6 separate regions of the Homo sapiens genome follow, and regions 1, 2, 3, 4 and 5 are each linked to region 6. The links are contacts of gene promoters, found by promoter capture Hi-C in blood cells and fetal thymus (Javierre and others, 2016). All regions are on one chromosome and are shown on one strand. Each heading gives the region's core, a stretch centred on a gene start or on the middle of the fragment in contact. The rest is flanking DNA. Distances are from core to core; before and after follow the strand shown.

Region 1 (4,032 bases), core at 171-2,670, 980 kb before region 6:
GATCTTCCCACCTCAGCTTTTCAAAGTGCTGGGATTACAGTGGTGAACCATGACGCCCAGCCTTAGTGTTTTTCTTGAGGGCTGTGGAATCTTTATGTTCACTTCCACTGGGACTCATGCTCACTTGCTCGTTAGGCATGGATAAAACATCTTTCTTAAACTGACAGTGAGGAGATAAGAGATGCTGGAAAGCAAAAAATGTCTAGAAGGGTTATGGGAAGAAAGCTAGGAATCATTTCTACAAGTGGTGGAGATGACAGAAAGATGCTTTTAAACTAAAAATCCTTAAAGGATGGTATGATTGGTATTGTGTCTGTCATTTTTATGATACCTGCATTATTTAGCATGGAATTTTAAAGACAGGGCACACAGTTATGAGAAGCAGCCCTAAACTAGAACAAATATTTCCTTATTCTCAGTCCAATGCTCTTTACTATATAAGAGGCAATAAGGGATAAAGAATGCGGGCTGGGTTCAAATTCGTCTTCCTTTCCCATTTAATAGCTATGGTCCCATTCTGTTCCTCAGTCCTCTTATCTGTAAAATGGACATAATACTAACCTGTACCTCTTAGGGTTGCTTTGAAAAATTCAATGACTTTATACATGTAATTCCCAGAATCAGTAAACACCCAAAAAATGTTTCTCAGTGTTCTCTATACCAAATGTTCAGTACATGTATTGAACTGTTCACAAAAGAAAGCTAAAGACTTTTTATGTGTAAACAGTGATCCTCCAGCCTCTGTCTGATTTATTTTTTATTTATATATTTTTTTGAGACGGAGTTTCGCTCTTGTTGCCCAGGCTGGAGTGCAATGGCGCGATATCGGCTCACCGCAATCTCCGCCTCCCAGGTTCAAGAGATTCTCCTGTCTCAGCCTCCCGAGTAGCTGGAATTACAGGCGTGCACCACCACGCCCGGCTAATTTTGTATTTTTAGTAGAGACGGCGTTTCTCCATGTTGCTCAGGCTGGACTCGAGCTCCCGACCTCAGGTGATCTGCCAGCCTCAGCCTCCCAAAGTGTTGGGATTACAGGCGTGAGCCACCGCGCCCGGCCTGTCTGTCTGATTTTATACTAGCTGTGTACAGTGGTGAGGGAACAGCAGCCTAGGACCACAGACTGAGGGTCCAAAAGTAGCCGGAAAACGAGCCACGCTGCAAGGTGGAAAAATATTAGCTGGCAACCCGCCCCGCAGCCCGCTCTCCGCCCCCTTCCCCGGCTCACTCTCCTCCGGGCGGAGTTGCTGACAGACAGTCTGTCTTAGCCACCCCAACCTCGCATTTTCTCAGCGCTCCGCCCTCCCAGACACGATAGGTAGTTGGTCTCGGCCAATGGCGACATCCTGTCATACGAGCGGTAGCCAATGAGTAGCCAGGAGTCCGGAAAGGGGCGAGGCCGATCTGAGAGCCGCTGGCGCCACTAGAGAAGGGCGAGCGGCGCGGCAGAGTGCGGCGCAGCGCAGCTCCTGAGGTAAGATGGCGGTGCTCTTTCCTCTAAGCTCTTGCGGTTGGGCTGCTATTTCGCTCTTTTTGTCAGCTCAGAGCTGCTACTCCGCCTCAAAGCAGTGTCAGAGTCAGTCTCCTTCCTGCAGGCTTCCAGGAGCCAGGATCTCCGGTGACTGGAGCCGTAGGACAAAATGGCGCTCGCATAGGCTTCCGAGGCCAGGCCCAGTCGTGCGCTCTGAGGCAGGCCGGGACAAAGGCGGCGTGCGGGGAGGCGGCGTGGCCGCCGCGTGGGGCTGGTGTTGTCGCTTCCCTTCGTGCTGCAGCTGTGCGAGTCCTGAAGATACATTCAGCGTGGTGTGGTTCGGGGTGGGGCCGGGCATGGAGGGACACGCTAAAGGGAGGCAAAGCCACAGATGCCTGTGGAGACTTGGGGAGGGCGGCGGGGACTTACGGAGCGTACCTTACGGGGACGACTTCTGCATGTCCTTTGGAAACTGTCCGCGCGATCTGTGTGGAGCAGGAATTTTCGGGAAGGGTAAGGGCTTTTTGGTCTTTCGTTTGACCCCGCAGGTTTTGGTTATGAACAGGATTCGGATTCACGTCTTGCCAACCAATCGGGGGAGGATCACTCCAGTGCCCAGGTCTCAGGAACCTCTGTCTTGTGCATTCACTCATCGTCCATGCTCTCACCCTCGTCTGGAGGGGCAGGAGTTTTGCATTAAGCATATCCTTGAAGACAAGAATGCACCCTTCAAGCAGTGTAGTTATATATCGACGAAGAATGGAAAAAGATGTCCCAATGCTGCCCCAAAGCCAGAGAAGAAAGATGGGTATATATGTATAGATATATATGTCGTTTTTCTTAAAGCGAGGGGGTATGTGATATGATGCGGGCTTCAGCATAGCTGCCGCGTTTGAGATTTTGTCCTTGTAAATTTGGGGTTATGGTTGTATCCTTGGAAAACTGAAAAAACGGTGAAGACTGGAAAGACCCTTGAGTTGGATTACTTAGTTCACCTCTTTGGTTCTTTTCCCTTATCTGTAAAATAAAGGCATATTCTAAATTAGTCTTTTTTTTTTTTTTTTTTTTTTTAAGAGAGATGGGGTCTTGCTATTTTGACCAGGCCGGTCTCAAACTCCTGGCCTCAAGGTATCCTCCCATCTCGGCCTCCCAGAGTGCTGGGATTACAGGCGTGAGCGACCGCGCCCGGCCCTAAAGTTAATTTTTTGGCGGGGGGGCGGCGCACAGATTCTTGCTTTATTCCCCAGGCTGGAGTGCAGTGGAGATCTCGGCTCACTGCAACCTCCTCCTTCCAGGTTCAAGCGATTCTCCTGCCTCCTAAGTAGTTGGGACTTAAGGCGTGCGCCACTATGCCCGGCTAATTTTTGTACTTTTTAGTAGAGACGGGGTTTCACCATGTTGGCCAGGCTTGTTTTGAACTGCTGACCTCAGGTGATCCATCCGCCTCGGCCTCCCAGAGTGTTGGGATTACAGGAGTGAGCCACCGCACCTGGCCCCTAAAATTCTTCTTAATGGAGGGGTGTGTGGCTCTATTTGGCTGTCCATGAATTTTGTTAAATAACATGCAAAGTTATATATGTGTGTATTCTTCTGTAAGAGGCTTCATAGTTTTCATCATGTATGCAAAGGTATCCATGCAAAAACATAACCTGACTAGATAATTTTTTACGTATCTTATAGTTTTAAAATTGTGTCCCTGGCTGGTCGCAGTGGCTCATGCCTGTAATCCCAGCACTTTGGGAGGCCACGGGAGGAGGATCACTTGAGGCCAGGAGTTGGAGACCAACCCAGGCAATACAGTGAGACCCCGTCTCTACAGAAGATTAAAAAACTCGCTGGGCATAGTGGCGTGGACATGTAGTCCCCACTACTTGGGAGGCTGAGGTGGGAGGATCACTTGAGCCTGGGAGTTCCAGACCAGACTTGGCAACATAGACTTCGTTTCTACAAAAAACTAAAAAAAATTTGCTGGGCACAGTGGTGCATGCCTATAGTTCTAGCTACTTTGAGGCTGAGGCAGGAGGATCGCTTGAACCAAGCAGTTTAAGGCTACAGTGAACTATGATTGCACCACTGCACTTTAGCCTGGGCAACAGAGCAAGACCCAATCCCTTGCCTCAGCCTCCCAAAGTGCTGGGATTACAAGGGTGAACCACTTCATCCGTCCTGTTATTTCCCTTTAATAAAGTCAAATGAGTTGACCTTGGGCCAGTTAAATTCCTCTGACTTGCATTTTTAGAAATGAATGTAATAGTCATTTTAATTCCCTAAAAATGATTTAAAGATTAGGGACTGTGAACATTATTGAACGCTTTCAAGAAGGAACTTATAAAATATTAATGTTTTGTCTCTTCAGGGTGTCCTTCTGTGCTGAACATGTCCGTAGGAATGCCCTGGCACTTCATGCTCAAATGAAGAAGACCAACCCAGGGCCTGTGGGTGAAACACTCCTGTGCCAGCTGAGCTCATATGCTAAGACAGAGCTGGGGTCTCAGACTCCAGAAAGTAGTCGCAGTGAAGCCAGCCGAATACTAGGTAAGGACCTTCTCTCCTGGAATGAAAAA
Region 2 (3,946 bases), core at 1,200-3,699, 660 kb after region 6:
AAATAATAATTTCAATTTTACAAAAACTCTTTTAGGTTATAGAAGAGGAGGAAACATCCCCAAACTTATTTTATAAGGTTAGCATAATCTTGATAGCAAAACTAGGCAAGGACAGCATAAAGTAGAAAACTTACAGACCAGTCTTATTCATGAACATAGATATAAAAATCCTAAACAAAATCTTATAAAGCCAAATTATATAATGTATAAAAAAGTAAATATTTTATTATCAAGTTGAATTCATTTCAGGAATACAAAGTTGATTTAATATTAGAAAGTTAAATTATGTTATTCACCCCACACATAGTAAAGAATTCAACTTTGTCCGAAAAGAAGTCTGGTCTTTGTCCTTGGCTTCTGAGAGGTGATGGGTAAATTGATGGAATATCATGGTTGATAGGAGTGTCTTTGTTTGGCTGTGAGCCTTGGGTCACCAGATTGTCTAAAAATATGATTTAAGATGGAGAATGGCTACACCAGAAAGACCAGAAATGTGATTTAGCGTGGGGGATTTGGGTCATGTCTGGAGAGGGTGGAGGCTGAAGATTGAAATCAGCCACATTGGCAATCGCCCATGTCTACATCATGGAGCCTCAATAAAAAGTCTGAACACCTGGCTCTGCTGAGCTTTCCTCATTAGCAATATTTTGTGCACATTGTTATACTTTGATATTTGAAAAGTAATGTGTCCAGGACTCCATGGAGAAAGAAAAACAGAAGCTACATGTTTGATACTTTTCCTGGACTCTGCTCTAGGTGCCCCTCCTTGACTGACTTTAATCTGTATCCTTCCTGTAATACACTCTAACCTGGATTATAACAACTTTTAGTGAGTTCCAGGAGTCCTTGTGGATTAGGTAACCTGAAGGTGGTTTTAGGAAGCCCCTAAACTTGCAATTGCTGTCAAAAGTGAGGACAGTCTTGCGTGGACTATGCCACCTCAAACTGTGCAGTTGGCTAACCAACTCATGCCCCATTAACATATTTCTTTTTTTTTTTTTTTTTTTCAGATGGAGTCCCACTCTGTCTCCCAGACTAGAGTGCAGTGGCACGATCTGGGCTCACAGCAAACTCTGCCTCCTGGGTTCAAGTGATTCACCTGTCTCAGCCTCCCAAGTAGCTGGGATTACAGGCACCTGCCACTGCGCCCAGCTAATTTTTGTATTTTTAGTAGAGATTGAGTTTCACCATGTTGGCCAGGCTGGTCTTGAATTCCTGACCTTGTGATCCACTCACCTCAGCCTCCCAAAGTGCTGGGGTTACAGGCGTGAGCCACCGCACCCCGCTGCACCATTAACATATTAAAGAATGAAAGCTATATAATGAGCTAAGTAGACACATTGTATTAGATAAAATTTAATATCCGTTTATGGTTTAGAAAATCTTAAGCAAACTAATAATGGAAGAAAAATTTCTTAAACGTGTAAATATTATCAAAAAACTACAGCAATATTATACTTAATGGTGAAAAATTTTAAGTTTAATATAAAATAGGTAAAGATGTTTATTATTACTACATTTGTTTAACACTCTACTAAATGGCCTAGATGGTATAGTAATGTGAATAAAAAAGTAAAATAAAAGGAATTAGGAGTTAGAATGAAACAAAACAAACTGGTCATTATTTATGGGTAGTATAATTGTCTACAAAATAAAAAGGAAATTGCATTTTTATACACCAGCAATGATCAGCTAAAAATGTTATTAAAAAGATTATACTATGTAAAACATTCTTACCTCTACGTTTGTTTGCATTTGTCAAAATTCAACAAATTGTGCACTTGTATTTGTCTATTTTACTGTATGTATATTTACCTCAAAAATGAACTGTAAACAAATATTTAAAAAGTAAAAAACTTTAAAAATATTTATACTATTTTAAATTACAATAAAAATAAATATTTTATCCAAGAGAAAAAAAATCTAGTGGGAGATGTGTAAGCCCATATCTGGTAAAAATTATAAAGCTTTATTAAACGACATTAAATAAAACCTAAACAAATGAAGAGATATACCATATTCATGGATAGTCAGATTTAATATTGTATTGACATTAATTTTCATGAATTGATTAACACTCCTAGAATCCCAACATCACAAGTTGATTTTAAAATTTATATAGACTAGCAAAGGACCAAAAATAACCAAGACAGTTCTAAAGAACAAGATGGGAACTTGTATGATCAAATATCAAACTTTATTATAAAGCTATAGTAATTAAGACATTGTATATGGCACAAGGAAAGGTAAATGGAACATCATAGAGAGCTCAGTACTAGACCTACACACACATATATATAGACCATAGTCAATGTTAAGGAGAAAAAAAATCCAAGGAAGAAGGGGGAAGGAAGGGAAAATAGTTGAAAGAAAAATATTTGGCTCAGTATATATACATTTAATCACAGTCAAAATGATTTTTCTTAATATTTATGAAATAGAGGGGCATAACATATGGATAAATCACAGTTCAGTTTTCGTACTGCAGGGTCTCTTTTCTTTCTTTTTTTCTTTCTTTCTTTCTTTCTTTCTTTCTTTTCTTTCTTTCTTTCTTTCTTTCTTTCTTTCTTTCTTTCTTTCTTTCTCTTTCTTTCTTTCTTTCTCTTTCTCTCTCTCTCTCTCTCTCTTTCTTTCTTGACAGGGTCTTGCTCTGTTGCTCAGGCTGGAGTGCAGTGGCACAATCTTGGCTCACTGCAACTTCCACCTCCCAGGTTCAAGTGATTCTCCCACCTCAGCCTCCTGAATAGCTATGATTATAGGCGCACACCATCATGCCTGGCTAATTTTTGTATTTTTTGTAGAGATGGGGTTTCACCATGTTGGCCAGGCTGGTCTTGAACTCCGGACCTCAGGTGATTTGCCCACCTCTGCCTCTCAAAGTACTAGAATTACAGGTGTGAGCCACTGCGCTCAGCTGATTTTCCAAGCTTAAGATTCGTGTATGAATGCAAAGTCATATATCCATGAAGCCAGAGCTGCCAAGGAATATTCTGCGGGTTTCTTTGTAGTTCAAGGTCCTAGTAATGAACAACTATGAGTCATATTGTATTGTTATGAACTTTGTGAATGTGAACTAATATGAAAAAAGTGCTGTCCAGTTTTTTCACAACTATATACACAACTATATACAATATTCTCTGGAATTGAGACAATTAATTCTTTATATTTTCATCTTTTTTGTTAGATCAAATGCACCATTGTAACTCAATATTCAGAAAGTTTCTACTCAAAAACAGTTTCAGGGCATAGTCTACTTCTATGCATTTAGGGGAGTACTTTAAATTTTCTTTCATTACGCTAATAAATTTTCTGTTGTTCGTCATTCTCCTATGGCATTCATTTTCAGAATGGAAAGATTAACAGAATATTTCTCCAAGGCAATACTGACTTTATTTTAGGTTGCTTTATTTTATAGTGTCAAATAAAATAAATAAATCAGTGTAAAAAGTTATATATATATAATGATATATTAATATGAATAATTGATAATGTGTAAGAATTGATTTCCAGAATTGAGTCTGGTTGGGCCACACTCAAAATTGGTCCTTTTACATCTTTTTAAAAATCTTATCCACTTTATGGAAGATATCTTGGAATATATAAATGAATAGAAGTTTCTACAACATTATTTGGAATCTTCCAAAGAATGACTGGTTTCATTCTTATTTAATATTTTAATAAGCATAAGTCAACCACTTCAATAGGTCCTACAAAGTTATAGTTGGAGTTGTACTAGTTATAGATGTGTGGTTGTTAGTCATATTAGATAGTGCTTCTTGGGCCACTTGGGATAAAATCTAATGCAGAGTAAAATTTTCAAAAGGATTATTTCATTCCAAATGAAGAGTTCAGCTCATGTGTAGACTCTATTTAGAAAAACGATTAAATGAATAACTACAATTGCTTTCTTCTTACAGTTACTCTTAAAATGCTGTGAAAGATTTTA
Region 3 (4,101 bases), core at 1,048-3,547, 620 kb after region 6:
TCATTCTGTTTTTCACTTTCAGTATAGTATTCAATGAATTCCATGAGCAATTCAACACTTTTTTAAATATAATATAGACTTTGTGTTAGACGATTTTGCTCAACTGTAGGCTAGTGTAAGTGTTCTGTGCACATTTAAGGCAGGCTAGGCTAAACTATGATGTTCAGTAGATTTGGTGTAATAAATGCACTTTTAACTTATTTATTGAGTTTTTTTTGGAATGTAATCCCATTGTAAATTGAGGAGCATCTGTATTCTGTAATTAAGATAGTGGTGATGGTTGCACAGTATTGTGAATATATTAAACAATCACTGAACTGCGCACTTTAAAATTGTTACAATGGTGAATTTTATGTCATGTGGATTTTATCTCAAGTGAATTAAAAAACAAAAAACTGTCCGGCCTATGTCAATGAAGATAAGAGACAGACCAACCAGATGAGTGAGTGGAGACTGCTTAAAGAGTAGCCCCATTGTGAGCTCTTCCTGGGGAGGACATGCAGTACCTCCTGCAGAATACTGAATACTCCCATTCTATCCCCCCATTTCCAGCCAAGTAAAGGGAGCGTCCAGAGAAACATGCCATAAGCTGACCCATGCCTCCTGGAGTTCAGAAAGCACAGGAGCTGGAGTCTGAGTTTTCCCAGAAAATGTATCTCCATATAATGAAAGACACAGGATGGGGTGAGAGATCTGGTTCTATAAAAAATCTTAGGCAATTTACAAAAACCAACTGGAGCAGGCCAAGAGAAGAACAGGATGCTGTAGGAGCTGAGTGCACTTCCATAGTTGTTGGGCAAAGGTATGTTTTTCTTGTGGGTTCAAGCTAAGTTACACTGTAAAAATCCTATTAAGAGTGCTGCCCGCCAGAGTGATGAAACTCCACAGGAAGCTCCTGCATGCAGCAATCAGTGACCCCAGTGAGCTCCATCTCCAAAGAACACCCAGTGTGCCTCACGCCGAAAAAAGAGGCAACAAGATATCTGCCAGTGTATAAATTCCACCTGACTACAGGACGCGTGGTAGAGTCAAAGGAGATAAAGAATGTGAAAGCCCTTCTTAGGACATAAAGTGCTATTGAAGTGTTAATTATTAGTAAAAATGACTTAGAATCATCAAACATGTGCTATTAATTTCTTGTCTCATATCTCTAATTACTTAAATCTTTGATTACAACCTGAGAAATTGTGGAAATTACAGGGCTAGAACTCCTGTGATTTCATCACCTCAAATTACTGCCTCAGGCAGATAGTATTTCCAAACCCAGCTAGACACTCACATGACCACACCCCCTTCTCAGCATACTAGATTCAGAATTATGTCAAGTGTCAAGCCACATTCTACTATCCCTTGGAGTCATTACTGAATGGTCAAAAATTCCAATGTATTATGTCATGTGGAAGAGGCCAGAGGAATATCTATCGCATCCTATTTTAAACTCCTGAGAAGGCAACTCAACCATCTGTCTTGGCAACCCATTCCAGGTTGGAACCACCCTGGCAGAAACGTCTCTCTTCTGTTTAATCTAAATCCTTCAAATAGAACCTTGAGATAATTGCATCCCATTTCATTTTCAAATAATTTGGAACACAGTTGTTTACCATCTGGGTTATAGGATTATATAATGTCACAGGGCTGTGGTGAGCAATAAATGAAATAATGCATGTAAAACGCATAGCTCAGTGTCTGGCATATAATAAAGGCTCAGTACATATTTATTATCACCATCATTACATGTGTTAGTACTCTGTCCGTCACAAGTGACATGCAACTCAAAATAATTTAAGCTAAAAAAGGGGGTGGGGTGGAAAATATAATTAAAAAGGAAGTAAAAGTATGCAGTGGCCTTCAGGTACTACCAGATCCAGGACTCAAATAACATTTACAGGACTCCTCTTTCTCTTTCTTCTCCTTTTTTTTAAGACAAGCTTTCAAAGCATAAAAGGCAGGACAGCAACCAGCAGATTCAGTTGGGGTAAACCGTTATCTTAACCACTTTGAATAGGTTCCCTGTTCATCAGTTCATTTATCAAAAATTTATTGAATGTGTTAAGCAGGGTTCTGAGAGCTGAGAATACAGCAATACACAAAACAGATAAAACTGCTATCCTCTTGGAATTTACCTTCTAGTGGAAAGAGGGAATCTGTTAGAAGGAGAAGGGATGCTAGAAAGATAAAAATGTTATCCTCCACAAAATAAGGTCACGTCTTATACCTTAAGATCAACTCTTATCTTTCTTTCCTCCCAGCTAGTAAACTCAATCCTTTTACAACGTTCTTCCCTTTCACAAACATGTGAAATCCCCCAAATCAGGTCTTCAAATGGATAAATAGCCTTGTCTATGGATTTTGAGTGCATTTAGTTTACTTTTGCTGTGTAATCTCTGCATAATGTTTCTACAATATGCCTGTAGTTATAATAATATAACCTTCCTGTTTCCATTTTTTTGAATCACTTATTCTTTTTAGACTATTTTTGCATTAAATACAGGTCTTTCTTCTGCCTTCATGGTTTCCTTAAAATACGATGTTAATTAGTAAAATCCTGCAAAAACCTGGTCATTTATTAGTCATTTAAAAAATATTCCTCTGAGCGATTTTAATTCTATTCCTCTGTATTAACTATTCTAACTCTATAAAATTGAAGTCCTGGAGACCAAGCTTTTGAGAATCCCAGGAAGTGTGGCCTAATACTAGAAAATCTCAACTTCTGCCTCTCCCCTTTAAGTACACAGTAAGAAATGCTTGCATGAAGCATTTTAGGCTGTGTTCTTATGATAAAATTCAACTTTCATGAAATAAATTAATCTGAATCAAGTTGTCCTCATCTGAAAATGCCTAGATTTATTAGTGCTAGCCCGGCTTTATTCCACAAACAATTCTATTTAAATTAGGTGTTGGTCTAACAAATCTGCCTGACCACAGCAATGACTCACGGACCATGTAGGAAACAACTTTCACTAAATTCAAGATTGCTCAAGTGAAAAGGTGCGCGGGGGAGGGGAGGAAGAGTTGGTTGTCCTCATCATTTTTATTTTTAAGTAATATTACAAGTTATCTATCCTGCCCCAACTGTTTCCTCAATTTGGTTGCTTTTCATTCCACTGTGGTTGGCATCTTTTGTCAAGGCAGTAATTTATTTCTTTTAATCCGGATATAATGGCCAAATGGGCGATCTGACTCACTCAAATCCCATCGTTAAAACTTATCTTGGAATTAAACAAAAATGGATTTTTAATCGTAGAGCTCATCAGCCTCATAGTCTCCACCTCATTTCTGAATGGCCTTGTTCGGCTTGCACCTTCTGTGCTTGCTGAACCAAAGCGCGCTGGTCGGCCGCGGCATCTCCGGAAGGGATGAAGAGCCTCCGCGCACACGCCCCTTACTTCCCTGTCCCGCACGCGCCACGAGCACGCTTGCAAAAGACGGGGAGGTGGCGGGGACAGAGACAGAGGAAATGAGAGAGAGAGAACGAAAGAGAAAGGAGAGAGAGGGAGAGAGAGAGGGAGAGAGAAGAGGGGAAGGAGAAGAGAGAAAAAAGAAAAAAAGGTCTGCTCTGGGATTATTATTATTATTTGGGTTAATACTCTTATCTTTGCATTCCAGCCGGAAGGTCGGCTCCAAGCCTTCTTTCCTGCCCTCCTCCTTCTTGAATTGGACACCATCCCTGTTGCCGCCTCCTGAGTCAGGAAAGGGATAGAACTTTCCCAGGGAGGTGAGGGGTGTCCCCGTGGCGATTTCCCGGTTACTTCCTCCCAGCAGATATCCCTGTGGAGAGGAAACGTTCCCGACTTCCCTCCCCGCGACCTCCTCCCTAGAAACGAGCGGAGACGTCAGGCTGCTTCTGGGTTTATTTTGTAAACCCAGACAGTCAACTGCACTTGGCGCAGGCAAAGCCTCCTTGGCCCTTGCCCCAAAGCAAAGCTCTAAGAGGTCCGGGGATTCCTTGGCCTGGGTGGGGAGAGAGACGTGACCTGTGCGGCCGCCGCGAAGTGGGTCTCCAAGGGTGAGACCCCTCCCTCGGTGGCTGGGCGTGTCCCCTTTAGCCTTCCTGGACCCCATTACCGCCCGGCTTGGAGCTGGACGAAGGGACGTAATTGG
Region 4 (3,736 bases), core at 1,198-3,697, 690 kb after region 6:
AAATGATGTAACGATTAAAGGAATCTCTTGTTTGACTTTGAGATGATTATAAAACAAGGCATTTGAAGGCAATTCTATAACTAAAAGATAAAATCATTATCATTATCTCTCAATCTTTAATATTGGAATAAAGCAATATATAAGATCATGCGATTATGGTTATAATACTACAAAGAATCAACTAAAATGGTGGATATGCTGCCACTCACACTATGCATGATAGGTTTGATCCTTTATAAATACAAAACCACTTTTAGTTTTAAATCCAAGCAACCAGAAAGCTCAAACATACATTTTTGTATACTACACAATGAGAATTAGTATTCAAAGCCTAGACCTATAAGATCCTAAAGTACCATCTGAATAACAAGAGTAAAATTAAATCTAATTTAAATTTAGGGTCAAATGCATTTTATTGTATTCTGGTTCTTGGTATATGGTTAATGCACATATGGTTTGTGCATCATGATACAGCGAGCTAACAAATATATTTAATTGTTCTTGTAATAGCTTCATTTCTTAATTATATTGGCTAAGTAAGAACTTACAAACGATCCTCTACACATCATCAGATGACTCAACATTTGGCCATTGGCTTTATACAACTGTGTCATCCCTGCATTGTATCAAAGAAGGAATCTCACTGGACTTTCCATATGTCACTTAAAGCCTCTTCTACCTCAACAAAGAATGGAAAATATCACAACATCAGCCACTAGATGGCACACTAATAGCAGTGATATTCTAGCATCAGGCTGACAACATTTTTGACATCTATGGAAAGCTAGAACAATAGATTATATGGGTATACATTCTATTACTGAGTGAATATCAGCATAAAAAACTTTACTGTAAATGTGTATTTCTATATAGCAAGTTTTTTTTCCATTGACTTCCGTTATAAAATCAAAGGTGTGTTTCTCTGGGTAATGAAAGATGATGTGGGAGTTGAAGAAAGTTATCACATAGGGAAAGCAACAAGTCTCTTCTATTAACATATTTAAAGGAAAATTCTATTTCAACATTTTAATAAAGGTCTTGAAATGTCAAGAGTTGAATGTTGTGTAGTTAAGATTAATTTCATGTTTTGCACAACATCATGCAAGTCTAGAGAAATAAATGACATTTTAACTGCCCCAAATACCTGGGCTGAAAAATCACCCAGAGGTAATTCCCTTGAGTTTCTCTGAAATGAATCCTAACCCTCACAGAATGCTGATGGGTTTTAGAAATAAATAGTCTGGGCCAAAAGAAAGGAGGAGAACCAGACACAGCAGAGACAGCAATTAAAGGAGAACAGCAAAGGAACAAACACAGCAGCAGATTCTGCAAGCCCATAGAAGCAATTGAAGGAAGGAGAAAGCACATTGATTGAAAAGGGTACTTGGAAGGGGTAAGAGAATGCTGTGAAAAGAGTTCTTAGTGATGCAATGATTCGTTTTTAAAGTTATGAATTTCCACATAAGGAAGATATGCCTGAATAAAAACCAGATTCATTTCGTAATGAAACAAAAATTACTTTGTGGCTACAGTGTCTGTTTTAAACATCATTATTTATCAAATAACTCTTCTTCAAGGTCGGATTCACAGCTGTCTCTCAAATAGAAAACATTCATAATGATAGAGTCATGAGTCTCCTGTTATCTGGCTGTCTTTCCTTACCTAACCGTTCTCATCTGCCACGAAGCTCCAATTCATATTCTAGCCAGGCAAGCCTGCCCACTGCTCTCTGTCTTTGCTTCATCTCCTATACCCTTGTGCTTTGCTGTGGTAAAGATAGCTAATGTCCTTTCCATAGTGTAGCGTTGTTGCTGAGAAGCTCTGCCCAGCCAGGGCCCTCATTTTCCAGTCCTACCCTCCCTTGCATCCAGGTGGGACTAGTTCTTGCCGGTGGAATATGAGCTGAGATGATGTGTACCATGTCTTGGCCAAGTGGTTAAGAAGTGGTGGCACATACCCTGTGCTTTCTCTTTTCCCATCTGCCCACTGGATGTTGACACACAGGATGATCATGGAAGCCACATGTGGAAGGTGATGGAGACTTCCAGCCTACGGCTCTGCGTGAAGCTATGAAGCAGTCTTCCTTCATCCACACAGCCGACCTTCCACTCCTGCCACCAAGCAGGAACATCTGTTTTGGATTTTATGTGAGTGAGAAATAAGCTTCTATTGTGCTACATTATTATTATTATTATTATTATTATTATTATTATTATTATTATTATTTTACTGTAAATAGCCTTACTTTAATTTATTTGCAAAAGCTATTTTCCTACTTGGAATGCCTTTTTAATTATAGGAGAGACACAGACATTTCATTGAGTGCTATTATGAGGTAGGGACATCATAATGGTAACATCTTCACAGTGATTTATACATGGTATCGTTGTCTTATCCTTCCAATCCCAAGAGCTAGTTATTATTATCTTAGTGGTACAGCCTTGATGTATTCTAGTGGGTAATTCTGTTTTAAGTGTAGTTAGTTTCTGAATTTGAACATTTTACATTAGAAGGTCCAGCTGAAGACTTAATTCACTATCAGGAATGGGGTTGAGTATGCCAAAAATTGATAGGGAAAATATGGGAGATAGCCATATGGCAGTCTAAAATATTTAAGTCTGATAGTAGCATAGACACAGGCTTTGGGTTACATAAGGAGATCATAGAGAAAGATTAAATTGATAAACAGGGTAGGCTCCAGATCAAGAGTCATATTGAATGTCAAGCTTAGAAAGTTGAACTTTAGTTCATAAGCTGGGTGTGTGCATGCATGCATGCACATGTGTGCGTGTGTGTGTGATTAAATCTTTTGTGCAGTTAAGTGACATGAACCATTGCTTTAAGATCTGCTTGACAACAATATTATATATAACCAATTTACAAATTAACTTTTAGAAAATGTTTTCCATTATTATTATTAGGTTGGTGCAAAGATAATTGTGGTTTTCGCCATTAGAAGTAATGTACCAAACTAATATTATATTATTGTTGTGATGGAACTGTCTTATGTGCTGTAGGAGTTTTAGCAGCATCCTTGGTCTCTACCAACTGGATGACAGTAGCAACTCCCAATCTTCTCAAATCACGACAACTCAAAATATCTCCAGGCATTGCCAAGTATCCCATAGAGAACAAATCACCCCTGGTTGAGATCCAGTGTTCTAGAGAGACAAACAGTTCACAGAGTGAGACTTGTCTTTGTTTTTATTTGAAGACACACCACTGCCTGATCGTCTTAAATCAGGACAAGAGAAGCCCCTGTCCGTAGATGCTATCCTAACTTCCCCGTCTCCCATTTCTGCCCCCTCCTTTTGTCAGAAGACCCGGGTGCAGGTGGCTACACTTCTCTCCATAATGCAAGGAGTCTTGGGACCACAGAGATGTGGCCACCTACATCCTGTGGCCTCCTTTCTACCATATTCTAAGTATCCATGGCCAGGGAATTTTTTGTCCAGATAGTCTCATTTTCCAAGAGATGGTGCTTGGAGGAGGTAATGGTGGTGGTGGTGTGGCTTGAGTTTGGACATGCCGGCTGAGATATCCTTGTATCTATGCTCACAGTACTGGGCAGAGCCGGTATGGAGGAAAAGTCAGGTGATGGTAGGTTCTTAAAATTCCTGGGTGGATCTTCAAGAAGTCTGAGAATTCTAAATTTGAGTCTGGCCTTCTAGCCTTGGGTTCTTTTGAGAAACTTAGAAGACCAACACCGATGATGGTGGTGTGTAGGAGCACCTTG
Region 5 (3,694 bases), core at 595-3,094, 640 kb before region 6:
AAGTCAGGTTTACGTACTTGGTTATGTTCAATTTAACTCTGTGTGACGAGGCAATGCTGTGTCCAGCAGCGCCCATTTCCTTTTCCATGAGGCACACATTCTTTACTTCCCAGCCACCCTTCTGGGTAGGGCCATGTGACCATGCGCATGAGTTCTGGCTAAGGGAATGGGGTGAAAATGATACACACCACTTCCAGGACTGGCCCCTAATATCTCTGACAAGTTAACCACGGCCAGCCTCCCTTATCTGAGGGCCACAGATTTGACTACATTACCAAGGCCTCGGCATGGGAGAACCACCAAATGCAAGAAGCCTGGTCCTTCAATGAATTCAAGAAGTACAGACCCCACCCTCTGGCCCCAACCAACTTGTTACCACACTGTGACTTGTATGAACATAAGCCTTTATGGAGTTAAGCCCCGAGATACTGGTTTTGCTAGCCTACTCCAATTAACGCACCTTATATTTACCACCAGTGGTAGCATAAGTGAAAAGAACCCCTGGACTTAGTTCCAGGACCCGGGATAAAAATTCTGGCTCTACTACTACCCCGACATATCCCATGATCTGCTCCTAGAATATGCTCTATACTCTTCCCAACTGCGTGTCTACTGCATTTTCCTCTTTCATTAGACAGCCCTCCTGACTCTTCTCTGCCTCACGATTTCTGTCAGAGTGGGGGGCCTTCTCTGACCTCCGTCCCATACGTGGTCACTTCTCTTTGCTTCAAGTGCAGCGTACGTTCCTCTGTTTTAGAATCTACGTTTTTATTGCAAATATTTGTTGACATGTGCTTCCCCAGACTGTGAATCCTTTAACTCCCAGCATTTAGTTACAGTGTCTGGCACACGTAGAAAATAAATATGCATTAAACGAATGATTGTCACATATGACCTTAAGTGAGTCAATTATTTTTTAAGTCTACTAAATAAAATTTTTGAAAATTGTTGTAATGATGAAATAAGGAATGTGAATGTGACTTGTAGGTTATAAACAGATTCTAACAGCAATGGGTTTACTCACTGTTTGTAGGCCCTTCTCATCTTTTCTAGTCAAATCCATCTTAATGCTGCAAGGTAGCACTATCCAATAGAAATATAATGCAAGCCATATTTATAGCCACATTTAAAAAGTTAAAACCAGGTGAAATTAATTTTAATATATTTAACCCAATATACCCAAAATATCACTTTTTAAATTAAATCTTCTAAATCTTGGAACACATCTCTATTCAGACCAGCCACATTTCGAGAGCTCAGGTGTCACCTGCGGCTACGGCTCCCGCAAATGGGACAGCAGCCGCAAGGCCAACTTCAGATAGCAACCTGACTTCCCCTCAGGCAGAATAAGTGACTCCTCCTCAGTGCTCTCTCAAGCCCTTTATCCTATCGTGAAAACTAGAGGGTACGCTCCTTGAGGAATTCCAGACTGTTGTCTGGAGAAATCGCTCTCGGCCTCGGTCTGGCCTGTAACGGGCGGTTACGCAATTCCAGGTAATTGACGAACCCTGAGGACAGAACTCCGTGGGAGGCCCAGTAGCCAGAGCGGAAAATGGTCAGTCAGGCAAGAGTGCGGGCAAGTGGCCACAGCAGGCTGCGATTCCGGCGCCCGCCGCCCTCCAAGCGTCTCGGGCCGCACCCTCCCCACAGCGGCGGGCGCGGAGGTCCCGGGTTCGCGTTTGGGGGCGCCTGAGCCGCAGCCCCGCCCCCTCCCGTCCCTCCCTCCCTCCCTCCCTCCCACTCCTCTCCCTCCCACTCCTCTCCCTCCCACTCCCCGCACCTCCGCCGCCGCAGAGCCCCGGAAGCGGGCGGGGATTTCCTGTGCCCGCCCCGCCCCGCCCGCGCCTGCCGGGCCGCCGTCTCCGCCTGTCGCTGGCTCCGCCGGCCGCCGGCTCCCAGACGCAAGCGGAGGGCGGAGGGGAGGGGCAGGCGGCGCCCGGGAGGGAGGCACCGGGCCGCGGGCCAAGCCTACCGGGGGTGAGTGGAGCCGGGCCGGAGGGAGCTGCGGCTGGAGGGAGGGACGCCTGGCTTCCCGGGGCGGCTGGTGGGGGCTCGGTCACCCATAGGGGCTGGGAGGAGGATCGGCGCGTCTTCCGGGTTGCTGCCTTTCCCGGGGGTCTGCCCCGCTGACATTCTGTGCCCGCCTCTCGCCCTGTCTCCCCGTGCCCATCGCAACTGTCAGGCCCTGCGGGCTCCCGCCGCTGTCACTCGCGCACAGGTTACCCCGTGGCTCCCTTTCTCTTCACTTGCTCATGCCCCAGCTCATGGGAAACCTGTTTTCTGACCTCACTTCCCCTGCTCCAGTTCTGCCTTGCTCGGATTCTCTGAAATCTGACCCTTTCCAGGGGCACTGTGACAAGAAGAAGGGAAGAAGCAACCTTACCCCTGAGCAGGCTCCCGTCCCGCCCATGCCCTACCCGTGGCAGGGGCCAGGGTTCTCTGATGGACGGAGCCAACTCGTCCGTGTGCCCTTGGGCTACTCATTTTTATAACATGGCCCCTTTTCTGTTCATCAGCACTGGCTGCAGAAACTTCCTTTTGCAGGTCCCTTGCTACCCATATGTGTGAAGAAAAGGGGGAAATGAAAGCCCTAGAACCCACACTGCAGTGGGCATGGGATCATCCTGGAACCAGGAGAAACGAGGTTAGGGCTACCACCTTAACCGCCCAGGTGCTGGCTCTGCGTGAATATCTTAGGAAATGCAAGCTGAGGACAGGTACCCATCCCATCCTTTGCTGAGATTTTTGCTAGCACTTCCACGGATTTCTGTCAGTGGTATAGAAAAACTTACAGCTGGCCCAATGGGCTCTGCACAAAGAGGCTTCCCATTAAGAGACTCTGCTACCTGGGGGAGATGGAGAAAGGGTTTGAGACAAGTGTCCAGATATGTAGCTAGAGGTAAAGCCTTCAGGGAGGATTTGCACAGGAGCTAGAGAACCAGAAAGATGGGACGAAGAGGGAGAATTAGTGCCCTGTGTGTTAAAAGTGGATACAGAGCTGGAATTCAGAGAAGAGAGCTAAAATGGAAGTTTCCCTTTATTGCTTTAGCAAGAATTTTCCTTTCTCATGAAAAGTCTCTGAAAAGGAAACCTCCTAGGCTGGGAATCAGTCCAGGGTGCTCCCATGAGGCCCTGAGCCATCTTTGGACTTCTGAGATAAAAAGGGAATTTGTTTTTCCTGTGCATTGGGCTTAGGGTTCCCACCTACCTCTTTTGTCAAAGACAAATAGGCAAGAAAATAGACGACTTGACATCTGTGATTACCTACCCTGGCCTTCAAGGTTCTTGCAAGTGTTATTGAAAGGATGTAAGTAAGCCAGGATAGTTACCAAGTTTCTGACTGCTCTTGGAAGCCTTTCACTGACTCTGACTGTTTGGATATTGAATAAGAATACCCAAAATATGTTGCCAAACAGAAAGAGATTCTGAGTCTCAGATTATTTCTCTGCCATAAAGCCCTATCACAACAGAAGTGTGACCCATCCTGCTCTTAAGTTGTCTAAAGAAAAAGAAGAGCCCACTATCTGGTATTGTACACTGCAGGATTATTAAGAATTAAAAAAAAATAACCTAAATCTCTTCTCTTGCAATCAAGACCCATTTTTTTCTGTTTGACCTATATAGAGATAGAAGGGACCTCTGTTTTTATTCATTAGTAGCATCATTCATCAGCCTTCTTCTCCAGACAGAGAAA
Region 6 (3,623 bases), core at 521-3,020:
ACACATAAAGAGGTTTGTCTCTTTGAAAATAACTCTTCAGGTATTAATGATAAGTTCAATTGAGATGACTGGAGTAAATGAATAAAAGAGACTTAAAAGAAAGGCATTATTTACACATTTTGTTGAAATCCATTTAAAGATAACTGCCAATAGAAGTGGGGAGGTCTGCAAGGAATCTAGGAAAGAACTTAAGGTGGCCTAGGTCTGAGCTCACAGGAGAGAAGGCTGCCATTGCAGGCACAGGTTTTGTGGGACAGCAGGAGCCTCAGAATTAGGTGATGATGACCATCAAAACCATTTGATTAACTTTTCTCACTTTGACTCTATATTCACTAAGCTACTTCTGATTATTGTATGGTTTGAGAGAGAAAAAGAGAGAGAAAAGCAGGGTCACCTAAGGGTCTATGAGGTTTTACTAGAGCAGCCAGCTAGCCCCCTTATCTCTCTTCTCAATCAACTCTGTCAGAATTAATAAAACAAATGTGGTTGCTTTTGTTAAAAACACCAGTAAATCAATATTTGCTTTTAAATACTTAATAAAAAAATTATTAAAAGTCAGTTCTCTATCTCCCTAATACAACCAAAGAATCATTTCATTAGTAAATATTTTGACGTACACTTAATGATTTGACTACTATGATTTTAAAATATAAAGATACCAATAATTAAGCAATGGGAAGGATGTGCTAATGATATGACCTTGTAAGACAGCACTCCAGCCTAGTTCTTCATTGATCAGCGCCTGGGTTAGTGGCTTCCAGCTTCAAATGCACAGCCGTATCCTATGCTTTAAAAAATTCTGATTGGCTTCACTCAAGACTAGTTACATCAGAATCTCTGGGATAGGACACAGAAATCAGTATACACACACACACACACACACACACACACACACACACACACACAGACACAAACACACACACACACACACGTGTATATGTATATACTCCCTAAGTGATTCCAAAGCTCAGTCAAGACTGAGAACCACCGATCTGGATTTTGAGGATATTTGAGGTTACAGTCCTGTTTTAAATGGAAAGTTTCATTTGTTTGTGTTTGCTTCTGTGGACTTCTGCAATTATTTTTGTTTTGCTTTCGTTTAAGAGTTGTCATTGCAACGAAGACTCCCTCACACGGGAAGCAGAAGCAAAAAGTGTTAAAAGTTTCGTTCTTTTTTCTCTGTAAGCCAGAGCATATCTAAAGACAGATTGTAACACTGGCACATGTCAAAGAAAGACTCAGAGATAGATTCACTTAGAAAAGGGGTTTACTTGCAAAAGATGCGAGGAGTTAGACGGAAGGACTAGTTTGCCAACCAGTACTTAAAGGGAAAAAAAAATCCCCTAAAATTACCAGGATTACCGGTTGACAGTAGTCTGTTCATGGTGGAAAAACAGTAACTTTCTCACATGGTTATTATACTCACAAAGGTCAGACAAATTAATGTCACAAAGGTCAGAGATTAGCAAGGTAAATATTAGGGATTAAACTGTTTAAGGGAGTCCAGGGAAATATTCAAGGTTTTATTGTTTTGGAGATCAGAAAATCAGGATGATCCTGCAGTTTTTGGGTTATCTCCTTTTAAGCTTAGTCATATTGGAAGCAGGCAGAAGGCTCAGATATTGCTTTTACATACCCTCAAGCCACCAAGCTGGTTCCATCCTGAGAAGGAAGTCACGAAGCTGACTTCTGCGCGCGCTCAAGCCCAGGCTAAAGGGGGCGGGGCGAGGCCGCGGGGGCTTGTGGGGAAGCGCAGGAGGCGGGGCTTTGCGTGAGTCACTGCCGGGCTCGGCGTGAGTCGCTGCGGGGCTGACGGGGTGGCAGTGCGGCGGGTTACGGCCTGGTCAGGTGAGCGGGCGTTGCGGTTCTCGCTGCCCGGAGCAGCGTAGGAGATCCTTGGGGTGGCCGGTGGGAGGAGGGGTAGCGGTTATGGGTACCGGTGAGGCGGGGCGGGCCGGGGCTGGCGGTGGAGGCGCGCGTTGAGGCGGCGCGTCGGTGTCCAGGGCAGCGGCGTCTCGGGTCGCGCGTTCCCGGAGGGGCTCGCCCCCGCAACCCGGGCCTGCGCGCTCTGCTTTGCAGGCGGACCCTCCACCCTGCTGCGATTTTGCAGTGCTCGGGAAGGCAGAGCCGCCCTCCCGCAAAGACCGAGGTGGGGCCCGCCCCCTTGCGGCGTGGGTGTGCGGTGTTCGCCGGGACAGCGGGTGTGAAAGTGATACCCCCAGCGCTGGAAGTTTTTGATTGCTGGCTCGCACCCCCGCCCCATCGCAGGGTCCCTGGGAGAGTTTTTGGGCCTGCTCGAGCAGCAGCGGTGATGGGTGAAATGGAAAAGCATCTAACCCCCGTCAGCATCTCACTGACTTGTTGCGCTTTTATTCATTTATTTGAGTTCCCAACAAAGCGTTGTACTAGTTTTGTTTTTGAATGAGTTGTGCATATATGGTCAAACATGGACACTGCCTGAAAGAAGCTTAAACCTAATTTAGTTGTTGAGGCTACGAGTCAGAAGACCTATCTGCATCTGCAACTGTCCCTTCTTAGTGAGGTATTTTTCACTGTCCTAAACAAATGTTTTTCTAATTCCGTCTCTCTCCCTCCCACCTTACTTCTCTTCCCTCCGCCTAAAGCTTTGACTCTTCTCCTACCTTTTTGGAGATTTTGCCCCATCACTCATCCTTTTTCCTGTATCTTTTACTTTGTTGCTTTTTCCCCAGACTATGCTCAAGAACAAGTCTTATATTATCAAAGGCAAATGTACTGTAATCTCCATATAATCTCATTTACGTAACTCATTTCATTCCCCCCCCTCCTTTTTTTTTGGTCCCAGGCTGGAGTGTAGTGGGCCCGTCACCGCCCACTGTGGCCTCGATCTCCCGATCCTCCCACCTCAGCCTCCTGAGTAGCTGGAACTATAGGCACCCTCCACCACGCCTGGCTAATTTTTGTGTTTTTAGTAGAGATGGGGATCTCGAAGTGTTGCCCAGGCTGATCTAGGAACTCCTGAGCCCAAGCTATTCCCCCTGCCCCCCAACCTCTGCCTCCCAAAGTGCCGGGATTACAGGCATGAGCCACCTGCGGTTGGCCTTCCACCCTTTAAAAAAAATCTTATTGAAACTCTAAATAGAGGTCAGGCGCGGTGGCTCATGCCTATAATCCCAGCACTTTGGGAGGCCGAGGTGGGCGGATCACTTGAGGTCAGGAGTTCGAGACCAGCCTGGCCAACGTGGTGAAACCCCGTCTCTACTAAAAAAAAAAAAAATACAAAAATTAGCCGGGCGTGGTGGCCTGCACCTGTAATCCCAGCTGCTCGGGAGGCTGAGGCAGGAGAATCACTTGAACCTAGGAGGTGGAGGTTGCAGTGAGCTGAGTTTGCGCCACTGCACTCCAGCCTGGGCGACAGAGCAAGACTCTGTCTCAAGAAAAAAAACAAAAACTCTGAATAGTCTTTTTATGACTAAATATAATGCACTTTCTTTCCCTCTGTGGCATTTGGCACTGCTAACCTCTCACTTTCTTCAACTCATTTTTTGTCATCTGTAACAGTACACTCTAGGTTTTTCTCCCAACTGTCTAGGTGCTACTGCCTACTTTTTTCTTCCTTGGCATCTCTTTCTCCGTTTAGTGTT

What was found. The method cuts DNA at HindIII sites, captures the fragments that hold promoters and counts their contacts. A CHiCAGO score of 5 or more calls a contact.
Region 1: a contact is called between the fragment with the promoter of KANSL2 here and the fragment with the promoter of RPAP3 in region 6, in 1 of 17 cell types (fetal thymus). The highest score is 5.5, in fetal thymus.
Region 2: a contact is called between a fragment that was not itself captured here and the fragment with the promoter of RPAP3 in region 6, in 1 of 17 cell types (naive CD4 T cells). The highest score is 6.1, in naive CD4 T cells.
Region 3: a fragment that was not itself captured here is called in contact with the fragment with the promoter of RPAP3 in region 6 in 5 of 17 cell types (erythroblasts, M0 macrophages, naive CD4 T cells and 2 more); the score reaches 7.1 in erythroblasts.
Region 4: a contact is called between a fragment that was not itself captured here and the fragment with the promoter of RPAP3 in region 6, in 1 of 17 cell types (activated CD4 T cells). The highest score is 5.4, in activated CD4 T cells.
Region 5: a contact is called between the fragment with the promoter of ZNF641 here and the fragment with the promoter of RPAP3 in region 6, in 7 of 17 cell types (fetal thymus, non-activated CD4 T cells, activated CD4 T cells and 4 more). The highest score is 13.9, in fetal thymus.

What each region holds. Positions count from the first base shown.
Region 1 is chr12:48,679,626-48,683,657 of GRCh38, reverse strand. It overlaps KANSL2 (KAT8 regulatory NSL complex subunit 2), which reads left to right and starts at 1,420. Exons shown (of 10, transcript NM_017822.4): 1 at 1,420-1,471; 2 at 2,017-2,276; 3 at 3,825-4,003. The coding sequence starts at 2,026. RefSeq lists silencers at 1,073-1,122, 1,163-1,372 and an enhancer at 1,453-1,722. The HindIII fragment of the contact is 8,142 bases long and covers 1-4,032 here.
Region 2 is chr12:47,040,548-47,044,493 of GRCh38, reverse strand. No RefSeq gene overlaps it. Among named protein-coding and RNA genes, the nearest start is that of PCED1B, 37 kb to the left of the region's middle. The HindIII fragment of the contact is 960 bases long and covers 1,970-2,929 here.
Region 3 is chr12:47,080,205-47,084,305 of GRCh38, reverse strand. The region is part of intron 1 of PCED1B (PC-esterase domain containing 1B); the gene reads right to left. Among named protein-coding and RNA genes, the nearest start is that of AMIGO2, 2.3 kb to the right of the region's middle. The HindIII fragment of the contact is 733 bases long and covers 1,931-2,663 here.
Region 4 is chr12:47,018,397-47,022,132 of GRCh38, reverse strand. No RefSeq gene overlaps it. Among named protein-coding and RNA genes, the nearest start is that of PCED1B, 59 kb to the left of the region's middle. The HindIII fragment of the contact is 563 bases long and covers 2,166-2,728 here.
Region 5 is chr12:48,349,069-48,352,762 of GRCh38, reverse strand. It overlaps ZNF641 (zinc finger protein 641), which reads left to right and starts at 1,844. Exons shown (of 6, transcript NM_001172681.2): 1 at 1,844-1,977. RefSeq lists silencers at 1,334-1,413, 1,694-2,123 and enhancers at 1,089-1,825, 2,264-2,333. The HindIII fragment of the contact is 6,093 bases long and covers 1-3,694 here.
Region 6 is chr12:47,704,177-47,707,799 of GRCh38, reverse strand. RPAP3 (RNA polymerase II associated protein 3) reads left to right here and starts at 1,770. Exons shown (of 17, transcript NM_024604.3): 1 at 1,770-1,848. It overlaps RPAP3-DT (RPAP3 divergent transcript), which reads right to left and starts at 1,712. Exons shown (of 4, transcript NR_183480.1): 1 at 1,637-1,712. RefSeq lists enhancers at 1,459-1,608, 1,540-1,834, 1,555-2,054, 2,055-2,556 and silencers at 1,749-1,828, 1,899-2,188, 2,219-2,308. The HindIII fragment of the contact is 881 bases long and covers 1,589-2,469 here.